Linked DNA regions of Homo sapiens: regions 1, 2, 3, 5, 6 and 7 are each linked to region 4. Evidence: promoter capture Hi-C in 16 types of primary human blood cells and fetal thymus (Javierre and others, 2016). All regions are on one chromosome and are shown on one strand. Each heading gives the region's core, a stretch centred on a gene start or on the middle of the fragment in contact. The rest is flanking DNA. Distances are from core to core; before and after follow the strand shown. Region 1 overlaps MYSM1 (Myb like, SWIRM and MPN domains 1). Region 2 overlaps OMA1 (OMA1 zinc metallopeptidase). Region 3 overlaps MYSM1 (Myb like, SWIRM and MPN domains 1). Region 4 holds the start of FGGY (FGGY carbohydrate kinase domain containing). Region 5 overlaps LOC112268263 (a long non-coding RNA gene). Region 6 overlaps LOC112268263 (a long non-coding RNA gene). Region 7 has its middle 17 kb from the start of CYP2J2.

Region 1 (3,343 bases), core at 319-2,818, 610 kb before region 4:
CACAATCTGAAAGAATTGCCTACATAGGGCCATGAAAGAAATTCTGGCAAGTAAATAACACCATAAAATTATACTTGTGCCACTCCAACATCTTTATTAAAAAAACTGTTTTTATATCTACTTTAAGGTCAAGAGGGCTTTTCCACAGGCCAACTATAATTAAAAAAAAATTATTCCATAATTTTTAACTAATGAAAACAGATTTATAAATATAAAATATAAGTACATACATGATTTTTGCTGTTTTCTGCAGACTGCATCACATGAAAAAAGAAAATAAGGAAGCGTGTGAGGTTTCTAAAACTACAATCCAGACTTTTAGAAATATTATAAATTGATTTTACCTCTTCATGTATTTTTTATCATCTTCCTTTTGATCAAGCCAGACTTTTTCCGGTTGTGATTTTTTAGATAAATAATATCTGTGTAACTATCAAGGAAACTTTTTAAACAATATTACAGTCATGTAATTTTTACATTACTTATACAAAACGTGTGCTACATAAATGTTATTAATAGTTCCCTTGTCTTCCCAATTAGAAGTGACTACAAGAAACAGCCTCCATGTTTAAATCAAGCTTGTCCAATCCTCTGCCTGCAGGCTACATGTGGCCCAGGACGGCTTCAAATGTGGCCCAACACAAATTCGTAAACTTTCTTAAAACACCATGAGATTATTTTGTGATTTTTTTTTTTTTTTTTGGCTCATCAGCTATCATTAGTGTATTTTATGTGGGGCCCAAGAAAATTCTTCTTCCAGTGTGGCCCAGGGAAGCCAAAAGACTGGACACCCTGGTTTAAATATTTTCTTCCAAAACATATGGAGAATGTAATAGGTAAACTTGGTTGGTTGTCCAAGGCAATTCGGGAATAATTTTCCACATTTCTAAAGCCAACAGAGAAGAATCCAAGGATCTTCTCTACCTTAATAAAAATTGCAAACATTTAGATCAAATCTACCAGAGAACTTCCCTCTTAAAGTTATTAGAACTAGCCTGATGAGGCCAGGCGCGGTGGCTCACACCTGTAATCCCAGCACTTTGGAAGGCCGAGGCAGGCGGATCACAAGGTTAGGAGATCGAGACCATCCTGGCTAACACGGTGAAACCCCATCTCTACTAAAAAACAGAAAAAATTAGCCAGGCGTGGTGGCGGGCGCCTGTAGTCCCAGCTACTCAGAAGGCTGAGGCAGGAGAATGGAGTGAACCTGGAAGGCGGAGCTTGCAGTGAGCCAAGTTTGAGCCACTGCACTCCAGCCTGGGCGACAGAGCGAGACTCCGTCTCAAAAAAAAAAAACAAAAACAAAAAACTAGCCTGATGAAGTACTTTAAGATTAGCCTGAGATATTCTTCACTTAACAAGTATTTATTGGCTATCTACTGCATATGTCAGGTACTATGCTAGGTATAGATGCTGAGAACAAAGATACTCTCATTATTTGTTTCCATATCTAGAAGTGAACCACTGACTACTTAAGTGTTTTATCTAGACAGTGGCCACCAACCACATGTGCATCGCTGGTTTCTGACCAGTGGAAACACTATTTGCATGAACTAGGATGTACTCTAAGTATAAAACACAGTGGATTTTGGCCGGGCGCAGTGGCTCACACCTGTAATCCCAGCACTTTGGGAGGCCGAAGCAGGTAGATCCCGAGGTCAGGAGTTCAAGACCAGCCTGGCCAACATGGTGAAACCCCATCTCTACTAAAGATACAAAAAATCAGCCAGGTGTGGTGGTGTGCGCCCATAATCCCAGCTACTCAGGAGGCTGAGGCAGGAGAATCGCTTGAACCAGGGAGGCAGAGGTTGCAGTGAGCCAAGATCGCACCATTGCACTCCAGCCTGGGTGACAAGGCGAGATTCCGTCTCAAAAAACAAACAAAACAAAACACAGTGGATTTCAAAGACTTAGTACAAAAATGTAAAATTATCTCATTAATGTTTTTATCTTGATTAAATGTTAAAATGAGAATATTTTAAATATTTTAGGTTATATAATATATAGTTAAAATTAATTTCCTTTGTGTTAAATGAGGATATCGGAAAATTTTAAATTATATGTGACTTTCTCTGAATAGCAATAATCTAGGCTATAACTGCAATGTCTGGGGAGAATTAGAGAATAAGAAAGCCTAAATGGGGTTAACCTATGATAATTAAAGGTACAGAGACACTCTAAAATCAACATGGCAATAAGTGGAAATAGTGGGAACAGAGAAATTCTGGCTTAGTAAGGAGAAATCCATAAAATGAAGATGAAGGAGATTAATAAACCACTACTTATTAGACTATGACTAGCTATCTTTATAAATCATAAAATCAGAAATCATTTCATTCAATCCTCTCCTTTTACATGTACGAAAACTGAGCTATAAATAAGGATCCACAAATGTAGGGAAAACATCTTCATTCTATAGTATTTGTTTTGTGCTTTTTATTTAGATTCCTCCCACGTAACACCTGTAAATTATGAAGTGAGAAGAACTTTTACATGTTCCAACTCTGTGCCCTTGGAAAATTAACATCTCTGGGTTTCAGCTTATATAACTTAAAAATGCAAGCTTGGACTTAAGGTTCAAAATGACTTAAATATTCTATCATTTCTACTCAATATTCAGATATCATAAACAGTTGGCTAGTGACAGAAACTCAAAATATGCAATCAGATCTCAGATGTTACAGTAAAACAGAACCTGAGGAAGAAAATGCTGCTTTTTGCATACATAGGTAACATGAAATTATATAATAGCAGTCTGGTGCTGTATAAAATCCATCTAGTAAACAGTGGCCTCTTGTAAATTTTGCATTTATAGATTTTTTTCACCCTGAAACCTGTACTTTCCTCATAATCATTAAAGGATACTCTTCTTCCAACAACATTTTCTCAATAACAGCTCTGTTCTCTTCACTGATGGTGTTATCCAAGGTCCAAGGCTATTAAAAAAGAGAATATATTTGTCTTTTTATTTATTGCTTTTTGAAATTATCTTCTGTTTTGGTAAAGAAAAATACATGTTATAATGATTATAAATGACAGTCACCATTTACTGAGCACACAGACATATTTTTGATTACCACAGTAACATTGAGATAGGCATTAATACTTTACAGAAGCAACCACAGCACTACTAGCATTTTAAGTGGAAGAGCAGAGACTTTACACCTGAGTCTGTTGGATTCCCAGGCTCATGCTCCTGCCCAGGATGAGGTAATAATCGCCATTCAAAAAAGGAATCATTTGTTAGGCATCAGACACTCTGTCAGACACTTAACCTCTTTCCAAAACTCACCACTAACTCTCCTTTTTCCTCAGTTACAATCTCCATGATCCTACTCATTTT
Region 2 (3,173 bases), core at 543-3,042, 760 kb before region 4:
GCTTTTTTTCACTTAAGAATCAACAAGCGGCTGGGCATGGTGGCTCATGCCTGTAATCCCAGCACTTTAGGAGGTGGGCAGATCACGAGGTCAGGAGATCAAGACCATCCTGGCCAACACGGATGAAACCCCATCTCTACTAAAAATACAAAAATTGGCCAGGCGTGGTGGCGCACGCCTGTAGTCCCAGCTACTCGGGAGGCTGAGGCAGGAGAATAATTTGAACCTGTAAGGTGGAGGTTGCAGTGAGCCAAGATGGCACCACTGCAGTACAGCCTGGGTGACAGAGCAAGTCTCTGTCTCAAAAAAAAAAAAAAAAAAAAGATTCAGCCATGCCAAAGCTGTCAAGTGAGGCTACTGGACATGAATTCGAAAAATATTAATTGAGCCACAGGGCACATAACATGTGTATGTGCTATGAACTGGAGAGAAAATGACCTCTGTCCCTAAGAAACTCACTAGGGTACAAAATGTTTAACTACCTGAGTTACTATACTTTCCAAAGAGGTAAGACTTCTAAATTATAACTTAAATTTGGATTCAAAAAATATAATAAATTGCTAAAACTGATGTTTGGGAAAAAAATCTTATATTACTTGATTTTCAAGGTATAAGAATTCTGACTATAAATCTATTTATTCAATAAATATATACTAAGCTCTACTCTTACATACTGTGTTAGTATTTAAAACCATAAACAAAACAGGTAAGATCCCTGCCCCCATGAAGCTTAGTCTAACAAGAAAGACAATCAAAAAAATAATTATGCAAATAATTATGTTACTCTCATGAGTGCTTTGAAGGAAAAGTACAGTATGCAGAGAAAAAAAGCCTAGGAGACCTAACCCCAGTAAAGCCAAGCAATGGGCGCAACTACAAATGAGCTGGTTCATAATTCAGTCGGTATGAAGGATACCTCCTAGGGCCTGATCCAGTCACCCTGCCTAACCCAGTCTGGATAATCAAGGAAGGTTTTCCTGAGAAAAGTGACATTTAAGGTGAAATGTGCTGAGCAGGAGTTAGCTGGGTGAATGCTAGGAAAAGCAATGTAGGCAGTAGGAATACTAAGTGTGAAAGGTCTGAGGCCTTCGGGAAAAAAAAATGCTAATTTCATATCAAAGACTAAAATTAAAAAACAACATATCTTTCACATTTAAGATACTTTCCTACTTTGAGTGTTATATTAAGCAGTCTAATTAAAAACAACTCTTACTACTTACTGCTTCATATTCCAGTTCCGATAAAAGTCTGAACTGTTCTTTCCCCAATAATAGTAGCTTGCTCCTTCCTGTGATTGGACTTACTTCCAGGTGAGTAAAATAAAACACCACAAAGAGCAATCCAAAACTACTCAAACCAAGGAATAGCTTCCATTTATTCTTCCTTATATTTTCTTTAACTACTTCCTTCTTGTTAGGAGGAAGTGCCTGCCACCATTTCCTTATGCCCCTAAAGCAAAAAGAAAAATTCAAAGTTCTGAAAATCATTCCAGCACATATCACTAAAGCTCAAATGCATACACTAGAATTTTACGTCCTCAAATACCTGAATTTGTATGATGTATTTCGCTGAATACATCGCTTTTCCAATTAATAAAATTCTTAGCTAAATGATGAAAAAATAATCAATGATGTAAAGTTACAGTTAAAAAATTCTAATACTCATCGAAATTTTCTTCTTCAGCTATTTTAAGGATAAACACTAAATGAGATGCTAGTTTACTATAACTACCACTGGTTAATATTTATTACTATCTAGTACATGCAAAATTCTCTCTCTCTCTCTCTCTCTCTGTATATATATATATACCATCTCATTTAATCTTCATAATAACCCTGTTACAGAAGATAAAATTGTTAGGTAACTTGTCCATGGCCACTGAGGTAATAAAAGGAAAACCAAGCAATGAAGGCAATGACATTCCAGAGTCTGACCACTTAGCCACTTAATAGGGATAAATGCCTAAATAATTATGTAAGAGGTTACAGTACAATAAATCTATACCTGGAACCACTACTTTTCCCACTGCTCCTCAGACCTCCAACACAATTTGCCAGTGATTCCACAAGGTACAAGGGAAACTGCCTCAGCATTCATTTTGGAAATAAATAGTGCTCAGTAGCAGAAACTCCACTATCCTCTTTACAACGTGAAAAAGGAGAGATAACAAGATCCTAGGTATTCATAAGAAAGTGGGAGATTTTATAGATAACATCTGAGAAGGTCCAATTTCTACCAGGCAACAATACTCTCTGCCACTTAGCAGTGTTCAGAAACATTTTGACAACAAGCAATGTTTTCAATACTGGGACAAAAATTTTCCTTATGAGTTGATCTGTAAAATCACAACAAAAATTTACCATATATACATCATTCTCTTGACAAAAATTTATTTTACAAATTCTTAAAGTTCTCTTTGTGAAGTGACACACCCCAATGCCTTTACACAAAGTGTGTCCATTTAAAGGGACATAAATCAAACTATCGAGTATACTTATTTCCTATTTAAAACTTTACATGACATTATCCTTTATTTAAAATGTATGAAAGACATATTCTAAATGAAAAATTTTAGGTGATCAACAATAGTAACAAAAACAAGAAAGTTACAAATAAATAATTTAAAAGGATGAGGACATAGCAGAAATCAGAAAGAGCATCCGAAGAACCTGGGATGAGCGTATTACTTCAACCAATAGTCAATACAGCTGTATCGCTTTTGGGTGCCAACACCAAATCATGAAAAACACAATAAGTTACAAATAGAAGTTCTTGGTTTTTGATCAAAAGCAAACTGGTTTGGTTCATGTGGTAGTAAGAAGGCTAGAAGGGACTTCACAGTCATCAAACACAAGAAAGCTTTATGAAGAAACAGTGATTAGCTTTCTTCCATCTTCATAAAACAAACAAGAGAAAAAGGGTTAAAGCACTACAAGCTGTGAAAATATTATTATAAAGGATCACCAAGGAAAAAAACAAAGATTTGTTGGGAACAGAATAGAAAGAAAAGAAGCATTAATGACTTAAGAGTTAACTAGGAGTGAGCCCACCCTTATATAAGCAAAGTTCCTCAATTTTATGATTTGCTGCCTTAAATTCCACAAATTAAAAAGAAATGTTTGTAAGTACTCTTCTTATACATAAGTGATAACCAGCACTTCTGATCCATATAT
Region 3 (3,099 bases), core at 462-2,961, 630 kb before region 4:
TCGCATTAACACAACTGGAAGAGAGCAGGGCAATTCCATTTCCATTCAACCATAGATGGTTAGCTTCAAGAGAACATTTTGTTTTGCTTAATAATGTATCCCAAGTGATCAGAACCGTGCCTGACATATACAGTACACATTCAAAGATACTTGTTGAATAAAGAAAGACCTTTAAATTAGAAAGTGTTTAATCAACACAAAAAGAAACTGAAGGCCAAGATAGATGAGAAAATAGCACAGAAAGAACATCCTGGAGTACTTAAGAACCACGGATATGGAACCGCTGTCAGTGTTTGTTGAGGAACTGCAGAGAATGGGAAAGTTGCTGAAGGACTAGAAATAGACAATTATTGAGCTTGTTTCACAATACAAAAAAGCAGACTGCAGAAAAGGAGGAACTAGATGTTGAACAGTAGTAAAATTCTAGAAAAAATTATGAAACAGCTGATTTGTGATCCTTAACCAAGTGAAGAGGTGACTAAGTAAAATAATGAGTTCATGAAAAGTCATGATAAGTAGACCTTATTGTAGACACTATTGATAGGAATAATCTGTTAGAAACTAAAGACTTAAATATATTTTATCTGAAATTAAACAAGACATCCGATATGATTATCCTTCTGTATAAGATGAAGATATATGCGTTAATTGTGGTAATCTATATAGCTGATTGAAGAATGAATGTCTTCGTTGTTTAAATATATACAATGAGGTTTACATTTATTCAATTAAACATTGCAATCAGTGAGTAATGGCAGGAAAGGCAAGCTTATTGAAATGTTAATGATACAGTGCTACAAAGGCTAAAATGAGAAAAGTGGATCTGGATTCAAAAAGATCCTGAAGACCTTGAACAATGACTTGAAAATCACAATAAATATAAGTCTCACATTTAGAGTCAGAAAATCAATTATCTGGATACTGGATGAGGAGTCCTAGCTTATGGAGGACTATTTTTTACATAGTTTATCTAATTCAGTCTCACGACAACTGTGTAAGTTTTATTTTTACTTTAGAGAGGTAATATATACTGTAATGATTAGGGGTATGAACTCTTAAGCTTAACACTTGGGTTTAAAATCAACAGCTCCACTACTTGACAGCGTGAGCAAGTTATTAAACCTCTCTATGCCTCTCAGTTTCCTCATCTATAAAATGGGAGTGAGAACATTAACTAATGCACAGGGTTGTCATGAAGACTATATGAGCTAATAAATATAAAGTGCTTAAAATACAGCTAACAGTGTTATTTAAATTATTGTTTAATAAATGAGAACCTAAGGATTACCCGAGGACATTTATCAGGCAAAAATATGATCTAGTGGCATTCCTGGATATCTTCTTTTAAAAGGTACACTGACAAAACTACAGTCTATTCAATGGGGCATCTGCAGGAAGAGGGAATAGAAAATCGGAACATTTAACTTATTTGGTGACCCTTAATTTTAAAAGGCTCAAATTTTAGATTACACATGCATTAGAAAACAACAAACCATGCAACAACTTGCTAACAATTAGTACCACCCAAAGAAAACCCAGTCATTTCATGAAGGTTCCTGTCCATAGCGTCTAGAGTTGAATGACCAACCTGTCCTAAACAGGGCCCCTTTACAACATATGTTGGATCATATGTTCAATGAATCTGAACAAATTTAAAATGTTTGTTCAAGGTCTTCCAAATTCATAATCAGTGAAACAAAAAAAATCTAAAAAATTGTAGCAGTATTTTTTTAAACTTAATGTGAACAATATAATGCAGCTATTGAATATTTTTTCATATATTATCTAGCCATTTGTGATAAATGTTTAAAAACCACATTTATATAACACTACACCTTTTTGTTGGTCTTGGCACTTTTAAAGATTTAACAGGTCTGCCTTTTTCCTCTTCTCTTCTTTTTGCCAACTCCTCAGCAGAGAGATGCTAAAACAAAATGCCAATTGATTAAGGAGTCCATCATCTACTAAGAGGCAGAATAAAAATAGTCCTTTAAAATCAAATTGAAGGGCATGTGAGGACAAGAGAGACTAAATTGATATAGATGGGCTTCCTTTTTGCTACCAACATGTAGAAAGACTGGACAGTATTTTTAAAAAATTGTTTCAAAAGACACGGCCATCCCAAACTGAAAATTTACTCCTTCTCTTGATTTGCCCATTTCAATCAATGGTACCAGTCACCCAGGTTCAAAAACGTCAGAATCACCTGAGTCTTTTATTTCCCATTTCTACTTACCATATTCTACTGTGTTGAGTTTTCTTTCACAACTGAGAGACAGTGCAGAGTAATGATTAAGAACAGATTCTGGATCTAGAATGTCTGGCCCAGTTATTTACTAGCTTGGTGACCCTAGGCAAATTCTAAAGCTTTCATGCTTCAGTTACCTCATCTTTAAAAATGGGAACAATAAAATTAATAATAAAAAGTAAACAATAATACCACTGTCATGGTATTATTGTGAAGACTGAGTTAATGTTTATAAAATACTGACATTGTCTGACACACAGTAAGCCCTTTATAAGTGTTTATAAAATAAAGTAAATCTCTATTCCATTTCTACGACCAACTTACACCCTAGTCCAAATGAACTATGCACCTTTTCCAGAATATATCTAGTATTTTCCCATGTCTCCAGCTTTGTTCCCTCAGCCTAAAGTGTATTCATCTCCATTTTGAGATTCTTCTGCAGATCCTTCAGATCAGATTATACCCCACATACTCTACGAAACCTGCCCTGATCACAGCCTTTGGGAGAAACTTACAATTCTTGGGACCAACCTTATTGAACTTACCATAGGTTTTGTCTTTCCTATTAGAAATACAAGCCCCTTATGGGAAGGATGAATTACTAATTACTGTGCCTAGAATAGTACTCAGGTGAGAAGTTGAGGGCAGGGAATGCGGAGGAGGAAAGAGAACTCAAGTTTGAGTACTTTGTGCATGCAAGGCTTACTGAATACCTAGTACTAGCATCTTTATATAGTCTATCTCGTTTCTTTCTTACAACAATACTTTGAGGGAGGTATTATTATTATTCACAATTCGTAAGTTAAAAAAGCATGAGATTCTGTGAGATTAAGTAGTTGCTTAAAGTAACA
Region 4 (3,227 bases), core at 208-2,707:
TAATGAAAAGGTGAACAATCATGGTGCAGAAGAAAGAAAATGAGCCAAACCAGGATCCCTGGTAGAGTTGTAGTGCAAAGACTGGGGTTAATTGTGTGGCCTCAGCCTCACTGGGCTGTTCTCCTCACCTGTAAGACCAAGATAAGAGCACTTATTTACTTCGGGGTTGTTGTGAAGATAGCAGACAATCTTAGTGCACCTGCCACTTAAGATCCGTTCAGTGAAATTATTACCTTTCACAGGTGTGTCTTTGGAAAATCACTTCCCTTTCCTGGATCTCAGTTTTCTTTTCTAGGAAAACAACATGTTTGGACTCAGCGACTGCTAAACTGTCTCCCAAACCTCGAACTCCCTCAGCCTGGGATCCTGCCTTTTATGAAAATAGTTCGGATTGGAGCTCAGGTTGGAATTCTCGCTTTAGTTGCTTGCTAGCTGTGTGTCCCAGTAAAAGCTAAAAATTTCGGATTCCCCACATCTGTAGAATAGGGATACATAACATGCAGCTTATTAGAAAGGGAAGGCATGTGAGAATTAAATTAGGTCCGTGTCCAGTACCCACTAAATTGTAAAAACTTCTCAAAGGCAGGGACCCATCTGTTTTGTAGATTTACAGAATGTCATACGTTGAAGTACGGGGGTTCGCCACGGGATTAGAAAATTTCTGTAGAGTAAGGAACAAGACACAAGGTAAGCATTCAAGAATTGTAACCATGCAATATTCTTATTTCTTACAGTCGCCTACAACAGTCCTGGTGTTTAGTAAACGGTCTGACACACACACCCATCAGGGGCTGCGGAGAGTCCGCCTGGGTAAGCTCCGCAAGGTGAGTCCCCAGAGCCGGGAACTCGCAGCCTGAGCAGACGCAGCGTAGCCGATCTTGGGTCCGCGCTCCTCCCGCCTTGCCCAGCCCTGCCCGCGGTTGGCTAGGCCCCAGGGAACGCTGCAGCCGCGGGGTGGGCAGGCGACGGCCAATCCCACGCCCGGTTCAAAGGGCCAATCAGGCCGCGCTTTACAGGGGCCGCGCTTTACAGGGGCCGCGCTTTACAGGGGCCGCGCTTTACAGGGGCCGCGCTTTACAGGGGCCGCGCTTTACAGGGGCCGCGCTTTACAGGGGCCGCGCTTTACAGGGGCCGCGCCGGCGGGGGCGGGATCGCGCGCAAGGCGGGGCTGTAGCCGCCCCGGGACCGCCCTGCTCAGGCGCCGTGGGGTTCGGCGCGGCTACGTGCAGAATCCGTCTAGCTAAAATGTAATTTCAGATTGGACAAGTACTGTAAGTGACCCTCCTCTCAGTCCCACGTGGGCGCTGGGGGCTTTTGCTGGTGCGCAGGCTCTTAGCGCGCACGCCCAGAAAGAGGCTTCTCCAACCCGGCCCGGCCCTTCCTTCCCCTTTCCCGCAGTCGTTGCCTCCTCCTCCCCTGCCTCCTCCTCCCCTTCCTCCTCCTGGCCGCTTAGTCTCACACCCGCCGGGCCGTTGTTCCCGAGACGTTGTTGAGTCCCCTGTGTCCTCTTCTGGGTGAGGCGTCCGGCCACTTAAGGGAAGGGAAGGGAAGGGTCGGCCTTGACTGCATCCCCAAGGCTGCCTATTAGGTGTCTGGAACCCGTGCTGCTTCCTCTCCGATCAGTGCCCACTTATCTGTATTCAGTACTCTTTCTCTCCTCCCCTTACCCTTGTAGGACATTTTCCTGGCATTTGAGGAGCCTTTAATTCACGTCTGGCTACCGAAGGCATTTTTAGGCTAGTGTTGCTTGTAGATTTAAACGCTTCCAGCACTTGTGATAATGTTTGAGGCACAGCTGAGTTTAGATGAGATAATGCTGTTTGGTTACAGTTATCCTGAGTAGAAAGGCCTAGGGATATCTTTTCATTTTTAGCCGTTTCCTTTTTATTTAAAGATTGACAAGGGGCCGGGCGCGGTGGCTCACGCCTGTAATCCCAGCACTTTGGGAGGCCAAGGCGGGTGGATCACGAGGTCAGGAGATCGAGACCATCCAGGCTAACACGGTGAAACCCCCGTCTCTACTAAAAATACAAAAAATTAGCCGGGCGTGGTGGCGGGCGCCTGCAGTCCCAGCTTCTCGGGAGGCTGAGGCAGGAGAATAGCGTGAACCCAGGAGGCGGAGCTTGCAGTGAGCTGAGATCGTGCCACTGCACTCCAGCCTGGGGGACAGAGCGTCTCAGAAAAAAAAAAAAAAAATTGACAAGGTGCAAAATGGTGAATTTCCCTCATCATGGGCTGTTTTCCACTAAAGCACTTCTGTGTCTTAACACAAATTTCTTCCCCGAAGAGTCAGTCATGACATGACCAAAGTCTGAAAAGCAGTTAATCCTTAGGTTAAATTTTAAAGTATGAGACCAGGAGGGGTGAGGTGCTTATTCTTTTGACTTGTAAATCAGAATGAAAGAAGGGAAAGTCTTTTATTTTGTGGCTGTTATTTAAATGGTAGAGTTTTGCTTTGTATAGTTTTTGCTTGCTTTTCCTCTTTTTTTTCTATGATCCACCACGTGTATGTCCTGATTTTTTTCCTTTTTAACTTGCTTGCTGGATTTTCCAGCCAGATGACTGCCGCTTGGTCTTCTGGGAGTCTCCTGTTAATGGGGCCCTCATGCTTGGCTCTTGACCTGATGGCCACTGGCCTGGCTCTTGGAGGACCTCCTAGTGGGAGGCCCAGAGCACTGTTATTAAGGATGATTGGGGGAACAGATCAGAGGGGGTCAGCTGGGCCTGGAGATCAATTTTGAGGGGGAGGGAGGTTGGGAGCCTGCCTGGCTGGATTTGGAAGTCAAAACATGTGTGCTGGGAGAAGGGCATAACCCCAGAGGGTGGAGAGCCATGTCTTTCTGGATAAAATTAATAAGTTTACTGGGAGGAGGCTGGGCCTTCCAGGCTGTGTTAGTTTTTGTTGTGGGCCTTGGCTTTTCCTGGAATTTGGTTCCCTTTCCCTAACCTTTCACTTATTAGTTTAAATAGTTCCCTTTACCTAACCTTTCACTTATTGATTTAAATAGTTTAAATCACAGTCAATTACCAGCTGGTTTTTAAAATAATTTGAGGTAATGAATCTTGCCCTTAATCTCCTAGCCAGAGTGGAACCCCCTACCTCCACCCCCAGGGGGATTTGAAATGATTATTTTACCAGAACGTGCTACAGAGATCACTTACCTTCTCACCCGCCCACCTTTTTATAATGGAGGGACATAGAATCAACCCAGGTGGTGTCAGAGATC
Region 5 (3,009 bases), core at 59-2,558, 580 kb before region 4:
AAGTGGTTTAATTGGCTCACATTTCCACAGGCAGTATAGGAAGCATGAATGAGGAGGCCTCAGGAAACTTACAATCATGGCAGAAAGTGAAACGGAAGCAGGCACATCTTACATGGCTGCAGTAGGAGGAAGGTGGGGGTGGGAAGGTGCTGCACACTTTTAAACAACCAGATCTCTTGATAATTCAGTCAACAGCCTGAGAACAGCACCCGGGATGGGGGGATGGCATTAAACCATTAGAAACTGCCCCTATGATCCAATCACCTCCCACCAGGCCCCACCTCCAACACTGAGGATTACAATTGAACATGAGATTTGGGTGGGGACACAGACTGCATCCAAGCCACATCAAGGTCTCTATCTTTACCTATTTTGACACAGCTCCTAATGTCCTACCTCAGACATAGGACATTTCATAGGATGAGAATCTCATCATCTATTTTAGAACCCTGCATAATATAATAAAATAGACCTACTAAGAGCATCAACAAAAATCTCATATTGCCATCTTTTTGTTTATTCTGACTTGAGGACTTAAAGTGTAGAAGGTCTTCCACAATGTGTTTTACGTATAAACTCCATGCCACAGGTTGTTTTCTATCACATTTATGAGAAAGCCAAGAACTGTTTTTAGAAAGTCATTGTTTAGGTAAAATATGATAGTAAAAATAATTTTGAAAGTACAGATATTGTGTTAATTATTTACATATGAGGGTGTGTTTTGAAGGCCACATGCTGTCCCTAACTGTTCTAACCCTTCGAGGGATTTACTTTGGAAGAAAAAACTGGACATCAAGGAATTATTCATATACATTTTCTGTGTTTTCATTTAAGATGGGAAGGGATTTTTCAAGGTTTTCCACGCTTTTATTTGATTTAATTTCATGCTCACTGAAGCCCATTTCCATCACAGTCACCAACACCTTGAACTTGCTGTGATTTTCCCCTGTTAAGCAGCCCAGATGAGATTCAGTGAGATTCTTGGCTTCTAGGCCCCATGTCTTGGAAACAGACCTCACTGCATCAGTGAAGATTCCAGGGCATTCTTCTTACTGATCCGACTAAGCCTTTGAAAATATAATATGACCACTTGGATTTTTCAGCATTAGCTTGAATCTGGCATAAAAGGAGCCAGAGATGTTGGAAGGCTCTGTCGCCTGGGGGTGCAGTGGTTACACCTCATTAGCCCCAGAGCAAGGGCCCCTTTCCCCTTTTTCCTTGGGCCTCTGTATCTTCCCATCCTGGCCTGGGGCTGAGACTGCCTGGGCCTGGGGGAGGGAGCACAGAGTCATCTGAGGCCCTTCCCAGGACAGCCTGTAGACCCACACCCACCCTTACATTCTACAGCAGGGATTTCATCTTTATTTCCATTTTGTCTGATCACGGCTTGTTCTAATTTAAGAACTTAGGTGGATTCTCAGAAAGAAAAAGGTGATGTTCACTGGCATGAACAGTGAATGGTGGAGTGGAACGTGAACAGGCTGGAGCTCTGGCTGTGCCATTTATTAGCCATGTGCCTTTAGAAGGTCCTCATCTTCTCCAGCCTCAGTTTCACCATCTGTAATGGTAGGTAAGAACCTCTACTTCAGAAGGCTGTTGGAAAGACGAAATGGTATGAGACAAAATGAAATAATGACATCCTAAGTGGAAAGGGCTCGCCTGGGGTCTGGTTAACAAGTATCACTGCCTCAGGTAACAGTCTTTCTCAGCAGTGCTGCATACAAACCTCCTCTGGCTTTGACCTTAACAGCCATTGTAGGTCAGTGTTCATAGCAGCCCCCACTCAAGTGAGGGTCCAGCTCTGCAATGAGTTGTGCCTAAGAAGGTCACAGGGGACCAGCCCCTGCTGTGTAGCGCAGGGAGGAGGGCTCTGTCATTTCTGGCCATCATGGCCCTTTGCAGTCAGCCTCAGCCTGAGATAAATATCACACTCTTGCATCTCACTTTATATCTGAGATCATCTGGCCCTGCCCACATCCTCCTCTGCTAAATGAGTAGAACAGACGGACTCTAAAGCTGCAGAATGATTTTAAAAATAAATAAAACCAAATAACAACTTGAGTCTAATGATTTCCCTTCAGGTTGTGCAAGCAGGAAAGTTTAAAATCACATAAGAATGACTTGAGGGAAAAGAACACCCCTTTCTGCTCCCGGTAAACACAATCAGCTTTGCTGGTCTGGGTTTTTTAATGATCTGCATTTACAGGAGTATCCATGACCCAGAGAGAGTATCAGTGTCAAGAATCTGCCAGTGAGAAAGTGATTTGAAGCAGCTCTGGAGTTCAGATGGCCACGGGTGCAAGTGCCTGCTCTGGTGTGCTTTGCCTCTGGAAAGATGCCAAGTCTTTGAGAATCTTTGCTGCATCAGCCATGCTACATCCTGAGGACTTGGAGGTGAGGAAATCCTGTGTGCACTTGTTTCCTTCCCTTCAAATGATATATCCCAGAAAAATGGCAAGCTCTCTGCTTACTAACTCTTTTCTTTTTCTTTAGTTCCCCCTTAGCTTTCTCTCTCCTTTCTTCCGTCTTTCTCTTGCCTCCTTTCATTTTTGGTAAAATCCAAAGCGAAATGTCAACTCAGAGGACATAGCTGTTTGTCTTCACCACCTACAAACTGTATTTCCTGGATCAAGCCGCTTAACTCCATTGAACTGTTTTTAGCATCCTGAAAATGGGGAATCACACTTTCCACTTATCCAAGCATTTGCTCATTCGTTTATTAATAATGTAACACCCTTGAATGCCAGGCCCTGAACTGAAGATATGGTCCTGACCCACTGGGTAGTCACAGGAGAGTGGAGAATAATGCTTCATTTGCTATGTTGCTTCAAGAATTACATAAAATAAGGCAGTTAAAAATATTTTGTGAACCAAATAGTGCATTATGAAAAGATATTAACACTTCTTACTTTCTTATAGCAATTTCTAAATGATTTAATTTCTGCCATCAAAATATCCCCCTTGTGTTGATCTAAACCATCAGATTGCAAGGTAAAGCCCTGATGTAAC
Region 6 (3,272 bases), core at 326-2,825, 560 kb before region 4:
GCCTGCAGAAATATGATTCACAGCCATGGAAAATGATGACTGGATTTGGTAAAACAGTTTTTCTTGTTTTCCTTATCACTTAGTAAACCAAAAGTTAACAGAAAGAACTCTTGGGACAGCTTCCCATTGTATGTGTGAGAGCCTGGATGTGAACCTAGGTCTTTGCAACTCTAATGCCTATGTTCATTTTACATAGTTACACTGTTCTCTAACAATATATGTGAGAACTGAGTTATGACAAGTGAGTAGACATTTTCCAGATGGGTTACGAGACAAAGGGCATTTTAAGCAGAGACAACAGCATAAGCACAAGGCCTTGCATTATGGCAGAAGGGCCAAGATGAGGTCAAGTTGCACAGATAATGTAAGGGAAGACTTCCCATAAGAAGTTTTGAATGCATTGAAATACGTAACTCGTCATTCATTACTTCGGTAATTCAACAGTTATTTATTGAGTGCCTTTACATGTCAGGTAACATGTTACAAAACTGGAATTGGAAATTACTCAAATCCTATGTCAAAATATCACTGCATAGGCTGGGCTCAGTGGCTCGTGCCTGTAATCCCAGCACTTTGGGAAGGCAAGGCAGGTGGAACACTTGAGGTCAGGAGTTCGAAACTAGTCTGGCCAACATGGTGAAACCCCGTCTCTCCTAAAAATACAAAAGTTAGCCAGGTGCAGTGGCACATGCCTGTAATTCCAGCTACTTGGGAGGCAGGAGAATCGCTTGGACCAGGGAGGCGGAGGTTGCAGTGAGCCGAGATTGTGCCACTGTACCGCAGCCTGGGTGACAGAGTGAGACACTGTCTCAAAAAAAAAAAAAAAAAAGAAAAAAAAATCTCTGCTTATATCTAGAACTTCCTCTCCTCCTTTAAAACAAACAAGTCTGAGAGGCCAGGTGCGGTGGCTCACGCCTGTAATCCCAGCACTTTGGGAAGCCGAGGTGGGCGGATTATGAGGTCAGGAGATTGAGACCATCCTGGCTAACACAGTGAAACCCCGTCTCTACTAAAAAATACAAAAAATTAGCCAGGTGTGGTGGCGGGCGCCTGTAGTCCCAGCTACTCGGGAGGCTGAGGCAGGAGAATGTCGTGAACCCGGGAGGCAGAGCTCGCAGTGAGCCGAGATCACGCCACTGCACTCCAGACTGGGCGACAGAGTAAGACTCCGTCTCAAAAAATTAATAAATAAATAAAAAAGAGTGTCCCGCAGAACAACAGTTCCTTGGGATATTAACAGGTAAAACAAACAAGTCTGTACAATTTTGTCTCATTGGCAAAACTAGCAGCTAAAGTCCCTTAGCTGGCTTTTGAGTGAAATAAACTATGAATACTTATAATAGATTAAGAGGCAAGCATAAGGGAAAGTAAAGATAAGCAGAGAAAAGTGACAATATCTTTGGGCTGGGGAGGGCCTTGTCTGTCATATGGTTCAACCTGTTTATTCTGCTGAGTTCTGGAGTGAAGGGACTTGCCCAAGCTCTCTTCATTCCCTGTATTGGTTCCTTTCTTCTCATACTCCCTGCCAGGGTCTGCCTTCAGTGTCTCATCATGTTTCGCTTGGATTGTTATAGTAGCCTTCAAACAAATCTCCCCGCTTTTACACAGCAGCTCAGAGATAATTCAGAAAAGCAACTTCTGGATTTTACTTTGTTCCTCAAAGCCGTTCAATATCTTCATGTTGTCTCAGGTTGTGCTCCCCAAACTGTTGTATGTGACCAGGTCCCAGAGCCATAAGCTAAACATAATATCACTTTAAAATGCTAATTTTACGTGATGGCTAGTAACTAAAAACATCATTTTACATGAAAACAAATGAATATATTATAGCCAAGATGAAAAATTTGGATGGGCTGAAATATTTCAAAGAATTTTTTTTTAGTTGTAGCAGTTGGTGTCAGAACCCTTGCATATTAGTTCATACTCATATTACTATAAAGAAATGCCTGAGACAGGGTAATTTACAAGAAAAGAGGTTTAATTGGCTCACAGTTCTGCAGGCTGTACTGGAAGCATGGTGGCATCTGCTTCCGGGGAGTCCTCAGGGAGATTTTCATCATGGCAGAAGGCAAAGAGGGAGCAGGCACTTCACATGGCAAAAGCAGGAGCAAGAGAGAGGGAAGGGGGAGGTGCCACACACTTTGAAACCACCAGATCTCATGAGAATTCACTCACTGTCCTGAGGACAGTACCAAGGGGACAGTACTAAAACATTCATGAGAAATTGTCCCTATGATCAATCACCTCCCACCAGGCTCCACCTCCAACATTGGGGATCACAGCTCAACATGAGATTTGCAGAGGGAACACAGATCCAAACATATTACCTTAGCAGCACAAGTTTGCTCTTTCCGCCATAAGAGGTGTTTCAGTGGGAAAGTTTATAATTTCTTGGCCCATAGAATAAATGCCAAGTCATTAGTTCATATCCCAGTTTCTCCAAGATCTGTTCAGGCCTGCTTGCCACTCACCCTCTTCTCTTTAATAGATTCTTGGAGACTCCACTCATCAACCATCCCATACCACTTGTATTAGTTTGTTCTTGCATTGCTATAAAGAAATACCTGAGACTGGGTAATTTATAAGGAAAAGAGGGTTTAATTGGCTCATGGTTTCACAGGCTGTAAAGGAAGCATGATGCTGGCATCTGCTCAGTTTCCAGGGAGGCCTCAGGAAACTTTTAATCATGGTCGAAGGTGAAAGGGAAGCAGGGATGTCTTACATGGTCAGAGAAGGAGCAAGAGAGAGAGGGGAGAGGTGCTACACACCATTACACAACCAGATCCCATGATAACTCACTGGCTCACTACACAGTACCAAGGGAGGATGGTGCTAAACCATTCATGAGAATTTCACCCCCATGATCCAACCACCTCCAACACTGAGGATTGCTATTCAGCACGAGATTTGGGCAGGAACAGAGATCCAAACCATATCACCACTTAAAATAGTAACTACTGCCGGGCACGGTGGCTCACGCCTGTAATCCCAGCACTTTGGGAGGCCGAGTTGGGTGGATCACCTGAGGTCAGGAGTTCGAGACCAGCCTGACCAACATGGAAAAACCCCATCTCTACTAAAAATACAAAATTAGCCGTGCATGGTGGCACATGCCAGTAATCCTAGCTACTTGGGAGGCTGAGGCAGGAGAATTGCTTGAACCCAGGAGGTGGAAGTTGCAGTGAGCTGAGATCGCACTATTGCACTCCAGCCTGGGCAACAAGAGCGAAACTCCATCTCAAAAAAAGAAAATAGTAATAATAACTACTATA
Region 7 (3,268 bases), core at 383-2,882, 650 kb after region 4:
AGTCAAGTATAGTAGTGTCCTAGGTCTTCACATTCACTCTCCACTCACACACTGACTCACCCAGAACAACGTTCAGTGTTGCAAGCGCCATTCGTGATAAGTGCCTTATACAGGGGTACCTTTTTTTATTTTTTGTATTTTGTACCACATTTTTTGTGAAACTTATGTTCTGGCTGGAGGCAGCTGATAATAAACCAATAAACCAAAAATTAAAAATCAGATAATTCAGAGAATTATCCAGAAAAATAAAATAAAGCTATGTGAAAGAAAGTGACTGGTGTCTGCTTGAGGTTTGGTGACCTAGGAGGGTCTTGTGAGCAGGAATAGCAATTTACCCCTGAATGCCAAGAAGGAGCCAGAAATAGAGCTAGTTATAGTTGAGGGGAGGGGGAAGCATTCCATGAAGAAGGACTAGATAGTGTAAAGATTCGCCTAAAAGATTCTTCTCCTAAAATGGGAAGAATCTTGGCATATTCCTGTGGCGGGGCAGAGTGTGTGAAGGAGAGGGAGGAGTGGGGCAATGTTTCAGGGTTGGAGGATAGACATCAGGTAGGACAAGGAATGTGTAAGCCAGGGTCAGTTTGGTTTATATTTTAAGTTTGATTAGAAGCCGTTGAAGCTTTTTAATCAAGGAGTGACATGATCTGATTTTTTTTTTCTGCTAAATTTCCTTAAAGATTGTGGACTGTAGGTGTGAGAGCAGAAGTAGGAGAGACAGGTTAGGAGATCATTGCAGTGAACAGGTTGGTGGATGGCATTGGCTTAGATTAGCAGTAGCAGAGGGAGGGAAGAAAAGCAGATGGAATTCAAGAAATGTTTTTGGAAGTAGAGTTAAAACGAGCTTGTTGATGAGAAGAGAGTAATAAAAAATAATGATAATAACAATCATATCTTTTAAGAACCTACTATGTGCTGGGCACAGAGTAACTCACTTAACTGCATAACCATCCTCTGAAGTAGGTACTCTTATGAACCCCGTTTTACAAAATGAAGAAACTAAAGGTAAAGTATCTAATTTTTAACAACTAAGTAAAAATAGTTAATGTTTCAATTTTGGGTGGTGGTGCTATTTGTTGATATGAGAAAAAAATGAAAGGAGAACAGGTTTAAGTGGAACAATAAAGAATTCTCTTCTGGCCATTTTAAATTTGATGTATTTATTAGTTATCCAAGTGGACGTGTCAAGTAGAAAGCTGATTATTCAGGTCTGATGATTTAGGAAGAAGTATTTTTAGGTCACAGGACTGGACGAAATCACCTAGGAAGAATATAGAGAGAGAATCAAGAGGTACTGAAAGACTCTTAGATCTGCCAAAGCTTAGAAGTAGAAGAGAGGAGAAGGAGCCAGCAAGAGCCCTGAAATAAAGACCAGCCGAATGGAGAAAGAGAGAGGAAACCTTTCATAACTGCTAGCAGGAGGGCCTGGAAGTACAACTCGTCCTCACCCCTGGTGATTAGCTGATGTTTTCTGGGCACATAGATTTCTTGTGAGAAAATACGGATGGAGAGAGAGGAATATGTTGTTGGGGCAATGCAGAGATTAGCACGAGTGGTCAGAATTAGACAGGCTACAGGTAAACAAGTCCAGGAAAGTATGGTCTGTAGTTGAAGTTTAGCAAGGAAACAGTCAATTTTAGCAAGTTCGATGAGTATATGCCATGATTTTGGGTTTAGCAAGATAACTGAGTTCAAGAGCTTTCAAAAGTATTGCAGAAAATATCTGAAGCAGTTTTTTTTTTTTCCCCCCACAAAGGGTTGTAGGGAAAGAAGGGAAAGTCCGACATCATCACCAAGGATGTAAGAGAAAAGATCTTCAAAAAGAAGGGATTGGTCAGTGTGTTGAATTTGCGGAGAAAAAATGAGATAAGAACAGAGAAGTGGTACTTGGAGTTATCAGTGTGGAAGTCACTGGTGATCTCAGAGTATCTCAGTTGAGTGGCTAGAAAGGAAGCTTGATTGTGGTATGCTGAAGAAATGGGAGTTGAAGTGGAGACAGCAACTAAAGGTAATTCCTTCAAAATGTAGCTTCATATATACATATATGCATTTGTATACTTAGTGGCCCCTTTAATGTACAAATTGTTGCTTGCTTGCTAGAGATATGATCCTAAGCCTTGCAATTCTAGTTTAATAAAATATCTTAGCCGTTTAAGTATGTATAGATTTCTATAGTTTAAAAAATGACTACCTATAATGTCTCATACAATGAGCATTGGTATTGTGTCTAGCTGTCTAAAGTTATAAACAATGCTTCAGAGAAGGTGTTTGTAGTCATATTTATTTATTTATTTTGAGACAGGGTCTCACTTTGTCACCCAGGCTGGAATACAATGGTGTGATCTCGGCTTACTGCAGCTTCAACTTCCCAGGCTCAAGAGATCCTCCCGCCTCAGCTCGCCAAGTAGCTGGGACTACAGGCATGCGCCACCACGGCTGGTTAATTTTTGTATTTTTAGTAGAGCCGGGGTTTCACCATGTTGGACAGGCTGGTCTTGAACTGCTGGACTCTAGTGATCTGCCCACCTTGGCCTCCCAAATTACCGGGATTACAAGCATGAGCCACTGTGCCTGGCCTAAAAATTCTTGAGTATGTCTGTAGGACAAATTCATAAAAGGAGAACTATTGGGCAAAAGGGTATTTTCATTTAAATACCGATAAATATGACTGGATTTCCTTGCCAAGAGTCTCTATTTCCTACGTACAAGAATATCTGTTTCTTCCTTGCTTGCCAATTCAGAGCTTGTGGTTATTTGCCAGTTGGATTAGTAAAAAATGACATTTAGTTTCAATTTTATTATTTATTATTTTTAATTACATTATTTTAAAGGTCAAAAAATTTTAAATTTCAAAAAATGCATTATTTTAATTGCATTATTTTAAATGCCACTTTAAAAAAAGCCATTTGCATTTATTTTTTTTCTGAAATCATGACCCTCACCCAGATTTCTTCTATTGGGTAGTTGATACTTTTCTTGTTGGCTTGTATATCCCATAATACACTAAGATAACTAGATATTTATCTATTATTTATGTTGCTAGTATTTTCTTTACATTTTTTCTGGTCTTTGACCTTGACTATAGTATTTTTACCATGTAGAAATTTTGTTTTTAAAATGTAGCCAGAATTATCAAACTTTTTTGGGGAGTGGGGCTTCACAGCTTTGTGTCATGCTTAATTGACACAATTAAGAAAATGGTTAAAAAAATGGTTAAGAACAGCATTTTTACTGCAATAATATTATGTCGCCAGATTTTCTCTGAATTCTT

What was found. The method cuts DNA at HindIII sites, captures the fragments that hold promoters and counts their contacts. A CHiCAGO score of 5 or more calls a contact.
Region 1: a fragment that was not itself captured here is called in contact with the fragment with the promoter of FGGY in region 4 in 6 of 17 cell types (naive B cells, total B cells, total CD8 T cells and 3 more); the score reaches 9.5 in naive B cells.
Region 2: a contact is called between a fragment that was not itself captured here and the fragment with the promoter of FGGY in region 4, in 3 of 17 cell types (neutrophils, naive CD8 T cells and non-activated CD4 T cells). The highest score is 5.6, in neutrophils.
Region 3: a contact is called between a fragment that was not itself captured here and the fragment with the promoter of FGGY in region 4, in 3 of 17 cell types (M0 macrophages, M1 macrophages and M2 macrophages). The highest score is 5.8, in M0 macrophages.
Region 5: a fragment that was not itself captured here is called in contact with the fragment with the promoter of FGGY in region 4 in 8 of 17 cell types (non-activated CD4 T cells, total CD8 T cells, naive CD8 T cells and 5 more); the score reaches 9.4 in non-activated CD4 T cells.
Region 6: a contact is called between a fragment that was not itself captured here and the fragment with the promoter of FGGY in region 4, in 17 of 17 cell types (M0 macrophages, M2 macrophages, naive CD8 T cells and 14 more). The highest score is 20.0, in M0 macrophages.
Region 7: a contact is called between a fragment that was not itself captured here and the fragment with the promoter of FGGY in region 4, in 1 of 17 cell types (M0 macrophages). The highest score is 5.0, in M0 macrophages.

The regions. Positions count from the first base shown.
Region 1 is chr1:58,689,996-58,693,338 of GRCh38, forward strand. MYSM1 (Myb like, SWIRM and MPN domains 1) reads right to left here. Exons shown (of 20, transcript NM_001085487.3): 3 at 2,866-2,936; 4 at 345-422; 5 at 231-254. Among named protein-coding and RNA genes, the nearest start is that of MYSM1, 8.4 kb to the right of the region's middle. The HindIII fragment of the contact is 1,985 bases long and covers 577-2,561 here.
Region 2 is chr1:58,535,293-58,538,465 of GRCh38, forward strand. OMA1 (OMA1 zinc metallopeptidase) reads right to left here. Exons shown (of 9, transcript NM_145243.5): 3 at 1,221-1,449. It also overlaps a transcript of DAB1 not described here. Among named protein-coding and RNA genes, the nearest start is that of OMA1, 9.8 kb to the right of the region's middle. The HindIII fragment of the contact is 2,130 bases long and covers 728-2,857 here.
Region 3 is chr1:58,670,035-58,673,133 of GRCh38, forward strand. It overlaps MYSM1 (Myb like, SWIRM and MPN domains 1), which reads right to left. Exons shown (of 20, transcript NM_001085487.3): 12 at 1,836-1,924. Among named protein-coding and RNA genes, the nearest start is that of MYSM1, 28 kb to the right of the region's middle. The HindIII fragment of the contact is 1,307 bases long and covers 1,059-2,365 here.
Region 4 is chr1:59,295,637-59,298,863 of GRCh38, forward strand. It overlaps FGGY (FGGY carbohydrate kinase domain containing), which reads left to right and starts at 1,458. Exons shown (of 16, transcript NM_018291.5): 1 at 1,458-1,514. It overlaps FGGY-DT (FGGY divergent transcript), which reads right to left and starts at 914. Exons shown (of 2, transcript XR_001738089.2): 1 at 733-914; 2 at 1-128. RefSeq lists silencers at 860-1,399, 1,410-1,499 and an enhancer at 2,917-3,227. The HindIII fragment of the contact is 6,368 bases long and covers 1-3,227 here.
Region 5 is chr1:58,716,355-58,719,363 of GRCh38, forward strand. It overlaps LOC112268263 (a long non-coding RNA gene), which reads left to right. Exons shown (of 9, transcript XR_007066129.1): 4 at 1,403-1,566; 5 at 2,207-2,394. Among named protein-coding and RNA genes, the nearest start is that of MYSM1, 18 kb to the left of the region's middle. The HindIII fragment of the contact is 5,773 bases long and covers 1-3,009 here.
Region 6 is chr1:58,732,331-58,735,602 of GRCh38, forward strand. All of the region lies in intron 5 of LOC112268263 (a long non-coding RNA gene), which reads left to right. Among named protein-coding and RNA genes, the nearest start is that of MYSM1, 34 kb to the left of the region's middle. The HindIII fragment of the contact is 3,546 bases long and covers 1-3,272 here.
Region 7 is chr1:59,941,949-59,945,216 of GRCh38, forward strand. It overlaps a transcript of CYP2J2 not described here. Among named protein-coding and RNA genes, the nearest start is that of CYP2J2, 17 kb to the left of the region's middle. The HindIII fragment of the contact is 634 bases long and covers 1,316-1,949 here.